2 separate regions of the Homo sapiens genome follow, and region 2 is linked to region 1. Evidence: promoter capture Hi-C in 16 types of primary human blood cells and fetal thymus (Javierre and others, 2016). All regions are on one chromosome and are shown on one strand. The core of a region is centred on a gene start or on the middle of the fragment in contact, and the rest is flanking DNA. Distances in the headings are between cores, read along the strand shown. Region 1 holds the start of PAX5 (paired box 5). Region 2 has its middle 13 kb from the start of ZCCHC7.

Region 1 (4,998 bases), core at 830-3,329:
CACAAAAACTAAAGACAACACATGAAAATATAACCCGATCCCCCACCAAAACGTACAGTTCAAAAAAATAAAATTCAAATCGAAGGAAACAAAACACACACAACACGAAATTCCCTAAGGCAACACACACACAGACGACACCCACTCACACCAAATCAAAACACATCTAAACACCGCGGAGAAGGAAAAGCCTTACAAACGACACACAAAAAGACAGCCTACAAGGACAAAGTACAAAATTACACAAAATCAAAACTCACCCCAAAGACCAGGACTTACAGAGCAAAACCCGCTAAAATCAATCCCACGAAAAAACAACACGCAAAACACCCGAAACAAAAGAATATCCCATGGAAAAATGAAAACTCACAGAAAACAAACAAAAACAAAACAAGCCCTCTAAATGGAAACAACAACAACAACAAAACACCAACACCCCCCGCCCCCAGCCCGGGGTGAAATGTCAATTCCGGGAGGGCTTTTGATCTCCAGGCGCGGACAGGCCGCTCCTCCCAGGCGCTGCCTCCCGGCGCGGGCGAGGCGGGAGGGCGGGAAGCCTGGGCTGGGGCTGGGCTGCGGAGGGAAAGAGTCGAGCACTCGGAGATGGCCAAAAATCAAATCTCGGGGTAGGGACACGGGCCCGCAGGCTGCAGGGAGGAGGCGGCGCTGGGGAACTGCGCAGACCACTTGGTGGGGGGGCCGCCCGGGAATCCACAGCCACATTTCCGATTGTGGCGAAATCTGCTCAGTGGATATGTGATGTCCAGTTGCCGCCGGGGGCCCCCCTTTCCTCGAGCTCTAGGCTCTTCCCCCTAGGTTGCGACCCAGCCTCGTGACCACCCCCTCCAAAAAACAAACAACACTCTTGCTGAGGACGATTCACTCTCCAAAACTGCCATTGTCCGGCGGGCCAGGAGTCCTCCTACGGAGCGCTCCCCCGCCCTGGAGAACCTTTCCCCTGCGACCACCCCGCTGCAGGGCCCCACAGGCTTTCAGTGGCTAGGCCCAGCAGCTGAACTAACTCAAGGCTGGGGAGGGGAACAGGGAGGGGAGGCTTGAGTCTGGCCCGAAGAGAGAGGGCTGGACATGCCACACCTCTGCTCGGTCTCTGTGGATCTGATTTCCTCTCTGGAATCAAGTCCTGGGGCTCTGGGACTCCACAACGTCTCAGGGCTCGAGGGCAATGCGATTCCACTTATGGGCCGGGGTAAGGTGTCTGGAACTCCCGCCAATCTCCAGAAACTACTGAGATGTTCTGCTCTGCCCGGGTGCTCCAAAGCGGAAGCCCGGATTTCATCTCCAGTATTTCACAGCTTAACCTCCATGCTCTGGGCCAGAATGGAACTTGATGTGGGGAGGGGTTCTGGGACTAGAAGACTGGATGGGACCTGGGGGCTTTAGGGATCTGGCGCTGCCCTAGGGTCAGGGGCCCAGCAATAGTCAGGACCCCAACAAATTGGGGTGGGGGTTGGATGGCTGGGAACCCTGGGGTCGGGCGCCGCCCTAGGGGTGAATCGGAGTAAACCGGAACGTCGCCTCGGTGCCTGGCAACACTGCCAGCCTTTGCAACCCCTTTCAAAAGCACCTGCTTGGCCGAGCAGTTAATTTCTTCAAAAACAAAAACCCGGCCTGCGCTCGTCTAAGCAGCGGGGTTTGCACATGGAGATGTCACAGGCCCCGCGCACAGCGCAGAGGGCCGCGACCCCCAAGCGCATGTCTTAATAGAAGGTGCGGCTGGAAGACCCGGGCTCCCGGGCTCCGCTTCGGTCTGCCCCTTCCCGTAGGTGCGCTGGCTAGCGCCCGGCGCAGGCTGAAGCCTTCCTTCCCTCCCCCCAACCCCTATAAAAGTCTGGGGCGGCGCGGCAGCAGCACTGCTGCTCTCCCGGCTTCCCGCTCTACTCCGGCCGGGCCGGGTCCGCCACGTCTGGCGCGCTGAGCAGGCCCGGCCGCGCAGCGCCTACCCTTTCCTCGCTCCGGGCCGGCAGTGTGGGGCGGCGCGCTGGGGGCGCGGCGTGTCTGGGGACATCTTGTGATGTTGGCGAGAACAGGACATGATCTCACATGGCGAGAAGCTCTTTAGTTCCTTAATCATTTCACGGTGCCTTCGGACGCTTTTTTTCCACCTAAAACGTTTAGTTTCAGCTCAGTGATCAGCTACCCCAGCTCGGCGGGGGAGCGGAAGGCTTGAATTATTCCGACCTGTGAGCGGCCCCTGGCACCAAAAAAAAAAAAAAAAAAAAAAAAAAAAGAAAAAAAAAGGCACAAAAAAGTGGAAACTTTTCCCTGTCCATTCCATCAAGTCCTGAAAAATCAAAATGGATTTAGAGAAAAATTATCCGACTCCTCGGACCAGCAGGACAGGTAGGACCGCGATACGGGCTCCAGATGTGCAAACTCCGGGACACGGCCAGGCCTTGGTCCCCACGCAGGGTGACCCTGGAGGAGGAGGGGGCGCGCCGCATTTTCGTAGAGACTGTCTAACTGCGGCGTGTTTGTTATGTTTTTTCACCTATCTGTTCACACACTTCTGCATCAGTCCAAATATCTGTGAGTTTGTCTGTGTTTTTCTCTGTTTCTGAATGTTCACGCTGGCGTCCTTCCGGGGGTCTGCAAGTTAGGGCCTGTGTGTTTATATAAGGGACTCAGTGTGTTCATTACAGTATATGTATTTTTAAAAGATGTAAAAATATATGAGTTTGTGTCCAAAAGTTGTTTGCCTGTGTGTGTGTGTGTGTGTGTGTGTGTGTATCTTTATACTCGTGGGGTATTCGTGTGTGTTTATAAGTTAGTACTTGTGTATATTCTTTTGGGTATCCAAAATGTGTGTCTACTATGAGTGTTATTTATGTAATTCGGAAATATCTGAGTGTACATCCACTATTTAAAGGGTCTGCATTCACCTGTTATATCCCAAGTGATTTTTGGATGTGAGAAAGAAGTGGCTACACTGACCTTTCCATTTTTGGATGTCAACGGCTGTCCGATGCATACACGCCAATGTTCACATTGTGTCTCTAGGCAAACTCCTAGACGTGGGTCTGGGGCCTATGGAGATCCGTGGTGTTTAGCATGTGCATTGTAAGGCCCAGTGTCCATTCTATTGGGAGATAGGACCAGGAATGAAGGTGTGAATTCAGGGCATGCAGCCTCTTGGTGTGCAGTGAGCACTGTTCAGGCTACCATTTGTACAAACAGGTCTCCTGTGGCAGGCACAACCTTGCAGATGACAGCGGACACCTGTAGGGTTAGTTGTGACATTTCTAGGGACCCCCAGCCTACATTCACTTTCACCTAGACAAGCCTCTGACACTGGCGTGTGTATTTGTGTGTACACACAGACACACACACACTGTGTCCTCAGGTTTTATCCTGTGGGTGCCGCACCAGTGGAGGAGAGCACAGTGGGTGGATGCATGTGCATAGTCTGGGCATTCAGCTCTAGGGCCTGTATGCGCACAGGCCTCCCTGGCTTAGGTCCCCATGTGCCTCCCACAGGCCTGAGAAGTAGGTAGCAGGATGTGTTTATGTCTGAGAGGAGATAGCAGGGACAGTAGGCCTCCATCTGCCCTGAGGCATGAATCAGGTATGGGGGGCCTCTTTCACTCACTAGGCCACTGTGTAACTCCCACACAAACACTCTCTTGGCCCTGGCAAGAAGCCCCCTTCCCCCATCTCTGTGCCCTCTGAGAACCCCCATCTCTCCTCCAGCCTCAAATACAAGCCTAAGAGCAAAAAGGATAAACTTAGACCCCAAGCCCAGGACAACTTCTGGGGCATAACTGTGTTTCCAAAATTGTGGCTGGAGAGAAGTGAGGGCAGAGATCTGAGGCAGAAGAGTGCTCCCAGGATGAGGGCTCAGGAAAAGTTACCTGGAAACTCCTCTTCTCCATCCTCAATTCTCAGAAGGCCCTTCTCCCTGGCAGTGGGCTTCTCAGCAGATGGACTTTCAGAGAGACCTGAGCCTGGAAGTGGGTGTTGTGTATGTGTGGGGAATGAGGCGGGGATGTGTGAGTGTCATGGAGAGGGTCTGCGCAGTCCTCGGGCTGGCTCTCCCGACAAGCTGTGTAGAAGAATGTAATTCATGGCGGTCGATGGGCTCTTTGATTAGTTCAATTGCCTGAATAATCATTTAATCAATAAAGCATTTTATTCCTCTGCATAGCTGGACTGGGTGGGGCTTGGGGTGGGGTGAGATACGGGAGCCCTAGGCTGGCCAAGCCTTAAAATCTAGAGAGCCACGCCCCCTCCTCACTGATGGGTTGGGGAAGAGCTGCCTGCCTGGAAAAGGGCGACAGTTCAAGTGAGACTGCACTTCCATCTGTCCACTCCAGCCTGGGTCAGGGCTGGAGAAGAGAGGGAAGCTGAGAAGCTGTCCAAGCTGGTGCTCAAAGGGTTGTCCAGGTCTGGTTCCTATGAGAGCTTCTTCCTTCTCCCAACTTCTGGGTATTTCATGGGCCAATAGACTTCCTTTTTCTTCCTTCAGAACCATATTCCATTTCTTACCCCAACCTCAGTTTCCCTATCTGCCCAATGGGGAGGGAGTGTGTCCTTCTGGCTCTAAGCCCAAAATAAGGTCAGGTCAACACTAAGCAGGGAGCCACTTAAGGACCTTCTCCTCTAATGTCTTCCTTGCTGTAGGGAAAGGAAACTCAGAGGTTCGGAGAGGGGAAGGGACTTGTTCGAGATCATAAAGCATGAGTAAGGGAGGGAATAGGAATGGAAGGTGACCTCTCTGCCCTTAGACCTCCTGTTCCTGCTGGGAGAAGAGACAGATTCCCCCCTCTCTCCATGGACCCCCTTGGAGAAAAACTACTACTTGGACAAGTAGTAGTCTCTCCTTGCCATGGGAACCCTTGAGTCCTTAGATCCGGGCAGACCTGGATGGATTGAGTACTTTCCCACTGGGCATTGACATCCAGTCTCACAGTTCTGGAATGAGCCTGGAATGGAGTGATAGATATTAATAACCCCCATCCATGAAGCTTCATCTCACAGAGC
Region 2 (4,832 bases), core at 2,328-4,827, 73 kb before region 1:
TCTTTTTAATGGCTGAATAATATTCCATTATATGTATATACCACAATTTGTTTATCCATACATCTACTGACAGGCATTTGGATTGTTTCCACCTTTGGGTTGTTATGAGTAACGCTACTACAAACATTCACAGACAAGTTTCTATGTGAACAAATGTTTTCGTTTCTATTCATATACCTAGAATTATTGGGTCATTATGGTAATCCAATGTTTTACTTTTTGAGGAACCACCAAGCTGTTTTCCACAGTGGCTACATGATTTTACATTCCAAACTGTAATGTACCAGGATTCCTATTTCTTCACATACTTACCAACACTTGTTATTTTCAATTTTTTAAGTTATAGTAATCCTAGTGGGTGTGAAATGGCATTTCATTGTGATTTTGACTTAAATTTCTTTAATGACCAATAAAGTTGAACATTTTAATGTGAATGTAGGCTATTTGTACATTTTCTCTGGAGAACTATCTATTCAAATCCACTATCAATTTTTAAATTGAATTGTTTGTATTTTTGTTGTGGAGTCACAAATTTTTTTTTTTTTTTTTTTTTGAGACAGGGTCTCGCTCTGTCACCTAAGCTGGAGTGCAGTAGTGTGATCTCGGCTCCCCGCAACCTCTGCCTCTGGGGCTCCATCAATCCTCCTACCTCAGCCTCCTGAGTAGCTGAGACTTCAGTTGTGAACCAACACATTCAGCTAATTTTTGTATTTTTTGTAAAGACAGAGTTTTGCCATGTTGCCCAGGCTGATCTCCAACTCCTGGGCTCAAGGGATGAGCCTGCCTCAGCCTCCCAAAGTGCTGGGATTACAGAAGCAAGCCACTGCACCTGGCTGAGCATTTTTTATATATTCTGAATACTAAACCCTTATGAGATATGATTTATAAGTATTTTCTCCCATTCTGTAGGTTACCTTTTCACTTTATTGATAATATCCTTTGATTTGGAAAGGTTTTAATTTTTGTGAAATCTAATTGATGTATTCTTTTGTTGCTTGTGCTTTAGTGTTAGTTCTAAGAATCCATTGCCAAATCCAAGCTCATAAAGATTTACCCCTGCTTTCTTCTAATAGTTTTATACTTTTGGCTCTTATATTTAGGTAATTGATCCATTTCAGTTAATCTTTGTATATGGAGTGAGGTAGGGGTCCAACTTCATTCTTTTGCATGTAGTTTCCCAGTTCCAGCACCATCTTCTGAAGACACTTTTTTTTCCCTATTGAATGTTCTTGGCACCCTTGTTGATAAATCAATTCGCCATAGGTGTTTGGGTTTATTTCTGGACTCTCAACTCTATTCTGTTGATATATATGTCTATCCTTATGCCAGCACCACACTGTTTTGATTATTGTAGCTTTGTAGTACTTTATTTCTCTTTTTCAATATTGTTTTGGCTGTTTAGGGCCTCATGCAATTCTGTGTGAATTTGAGGATCAACCTTTCCATTTACACAAAAATGGCCATTAAAATTGTTATAGGGATTGCATTGAATCTGTAGATCATTTTGGGAGTACTGCCATCTTAACAATATTAAGTTTTCTGATACATAACCATGGAATTTCATTATATTAAATTAGGTCTTTTTAAATTTTATTCAGCAGTTTTATACTTTTCAGTGTGCAAGTCCTTCACCTCCTTGGTTAAATTTACACAAAAATGGCCATTAAAATTTTTATAGGGATTGCGTTGAATCTGTAAGTCATTTTGGGAGTACTGCCATCTTAACAATATTAAGTTTTCTGATACATAACCATGGAATTTCATGTTAAGTTAGGTCTTTTTAAATTTTATTCAGCAGTTTTATACTTTTCAGTGTACATGTCCTTCACCTTTCTTGATGAATGGTCTGATCAAATGCATTCCTGAGAGATGCAAAACTTGCATAAACCATAAAATTCTATATCCCAATCAGAATAAAATTCCTAAGAATTGTATTTGATTCTTCTGGATGCTATTATGAATGGAATTTTTTTTTAGGATTGTTCCTTGGTGATGTACAGAAACACAACTGGTTTTTGTGTGTTGATCTTGTACCCTAGAAATTTGCTAAATCAATTTACTAGATCTAATAGATTTTTTGTGTATTCCTTGGGATTTTCTATATGTAGAGTCCTGTGTTCTGCAACTGTAAATATTTATTTCTTCCTTTCCAATTTGGATGACTTGTGATTCCAAATGATGACAGTGTTTTACTTTTTCTTTCCAAGATGCTCTGGCTAGGACTCCCAGTACCATGTTGAGTAGCAGTGATGAAAGCAGGCATCCTTATATTGTTTCTGATCTTAGGGGGAAAGCTTTCAGTCTATCACCATTAAGTTTGAAAAGCTTCCTTATCTTTTGGTCTTTGGTTGGGGTTGGACAATAGGCAGCATGAGCTAAATTTAGGAGGACAGGAGGGGAATGAAGTCACACCGTTGGTGTGCTGGCTCCCTCTCTGCTGCGTCTCCATGAGTTGATTGCGTTCCTCTACAAAAGACCACAGCTCCTGTCAGGTGACCTTCTTCATACAGCCACTCCCTTCCTTCCTGGCCCTTTTAGGTGTAACTAAAAGGTGAATGCTCCCTGCAATGGCTAGCCCTAGGGTGCCATACCTTGTTGTCTTCCCTGAGTTCTGCCCACCCCTCTGTAAACTGTCCCTTCATGAAACTACTCAATTCTTCATTCAGAATGTACACCTGTTTCCTGCAGAGACTCTAATTCAAAGACTTAACAGTGAGTAAATGGGCACATCTCTCTGGACTGAAGTCAGCCTGCAGTGGTCCAGCAACACTCCAAAGTGAGTGAGGTTTTAACAACCACCTTACAGTCTTTTCTGGCTTTTGAACATATATAAGTCTGTGACTGGGTATGCGGTAGGAGGAGTTTGGTGAGAACAAGGAAGAGAACTTGCTGCTTTTCATGTCAGCTACGTGTACCTTAGAGATGCAACTTGCATAAACTGTAAAATTCTGTATCCCAATCAGAATTGCTGAATCAAAGATTTGGAACTGCAACTTCTTCAAATGGGAAGACAAATATTTCCTCCACCTTTGCTTCTGATTCTGCTCATCATCCATTGTTAGTATCCCAGATTAGAATCTGATTGGGACATGCTGGCTGCTTGAACTTTGGGGCTTATTGCTACCAAATATTCGAGCCCAGCCCAACTTTTGTTTCATAACTGCCTCTACCCCAAGGCCTGATGGAACCCACCTCTTTTGGCCCAAGGAAACTCACATGCTGGCAACATTTGTGTACTGTATTCATTTCCTAGGGCTGCCCACAACAAATTACCAAAAAGTGGGGTGACTTAAAACAGCAAGAATTTCTTTTCTCACAGTTTTGGAGGCTAGAAGTCCGAGATCAAGATGTTGGCAGGTCCATGCTCTCTGATGGCTTTAAGGAAGAACCCTCCCTGCCTCTTCCTGGCTTCTGTAGGTTCTTGGCAATCCTTGGTTTGTAGATGCATCACTCCAACCTCTGCCTCTGTCATCACATGGCTACATCTTCTTCCTGTGTGTCTTATTCTTCCTCCCATGAGGCCATCAGTCATATTGAATTGAGAACCCATCAGGCTGGGCATGGTGGCTTATGCCTGTAATCTCAGCACTTTGGGAGGCAGAGACACATGGATCACCTGAGGTCAGGAGTTCGAGACCAGCCCGGCCAACATGGCAAAACCCCGTCTCTATTAAAAATACAAAAATTAGCTGAGTCTGGTGGCATGTGACTGTAGTCCTGGCTACTTGGGAGGCTGAGGCAGAAGAATCACTTGAACCCGGGAGACAGAGGTTGCAGTCAGCCGAGATCGAGCCACTGCATTCAGGCCTGGGCAACAGAGTGAGACTCTGTCTCAAACAAACAGAAAAAAGGATCCATCATATCTTAACTGATATCTGCAATGACCCTGTTTCCAAATAAGGTCATATTCTGAGATACTAGCATAAGGATTTCAACATTCCCTTGGAGGGACACAATTCAACTCATAGCAATATATATTTATCATTTGCAAGGACTTGCTTCTCCCTGTCTGACTCATTCCACTACTAGAAGAGAAAATCCTACTTATAAAATAGAAGGTTAGAGGCTGGGCGCAGTGGCTCACACCTGTAATCCCAGCAATTTGGGAGGCTAAGGCTGGTGGATCACGAGATCAGGAGTTCAAGGCCAGCCTGGCCAAGATGGTGAAACCCCGTCTCTACTAAAACTACAAAAATTAGCAGGGCATAGTGGCAGGCGCCTGTAATCCCAGCTACTCAGTAGGCAGAGACAGGAGAATGGCTTGAACCTGGGCGGCAGAGGTTGTAGTGAGCTGAGATGACGCCACTGCACTCCGGTCTGGGTGACAGAGTGAGACTCCATCTCAAAAAATAAATAAATAAAATAAAAATAAAATAAAATATAAGGTTAGAACATTTTATTGAAGGAAAGCAATAGGTGAGCAGAAAATCAAGGGCCCTCACTCAACTAAAAGTCAAAGCATGGGACTATAGTGCCAGGTATGACATAATTTTCCTGTGTGAAGTTTCAAACCACTTAATCTCTGTGCACTTTGGTTTCCTCATCTGTAAAATGAGGAAAAAGACTTAGTAACTGCCAAGGCAGGTCCTGTTAAGCTCCCAAATTCTAAGATTCTTTGACATACACATCTATTGCTAGTAGATTTTTTGCAAGGGATATTGTGAGCTTGCTTAGTGTTACCTCAGACTGCCTATGCTCAAGGTCTCTCTCAGTCCATTTTCAATTACTCTCCTGTTGTCTCTGTGATAGTTTGGTTTATTTGAAAACATCTGGAGGATTCACTAGCCTTAATTCCAAGTATGAAATGTAAAGGCTCCATTTAAAGCTTCATA

Evidence for each region. The method cuts DNA at HindIII sites, captures the fragments that hold promoters and counts their contacts. A CHiCAGO score of 5 or more calls a contact.
Region 2: a fragment that was not itself captured here is called in contact with the fragment with the promoter of PAX5 in region 1 in 2 of 17 cell types (total B cells and naive B cells); the score reaches 8.1 in total B cells.

Annotation. Positions count from the first base shown.
Region 1 is chr9:37,031,349-37,036,346 of GRCh38, reverse strand. It overlaps PAX5 (paired box 5), which reads left to right and starts at 2,079. Exons shown (of 10, transcript NM_016734.3): 1 at 2,079-2,361. The coding sequence starts at 2,316. RefSeq lists silencers at 507-666, 1,747-1,926, 2,193-2,313, an enhancer at 1,367-1,416 and a promoter at 1,495-1,933. The HindIII fragment of the contact is 10,408 bases long and covers 1-4,984 here.
Region 2 is chr9:37,105,569-37,110,400 of GRCh38, reverse strand. No RefSeq gene overlaps it. Among named protein-coding and RNA genes, the nearest start is that of ZCCHC7, 13 kb to the left of the region's middle. The HindIII fragment of the contact is 2,500 bases long and covers 2,328-4,827 here.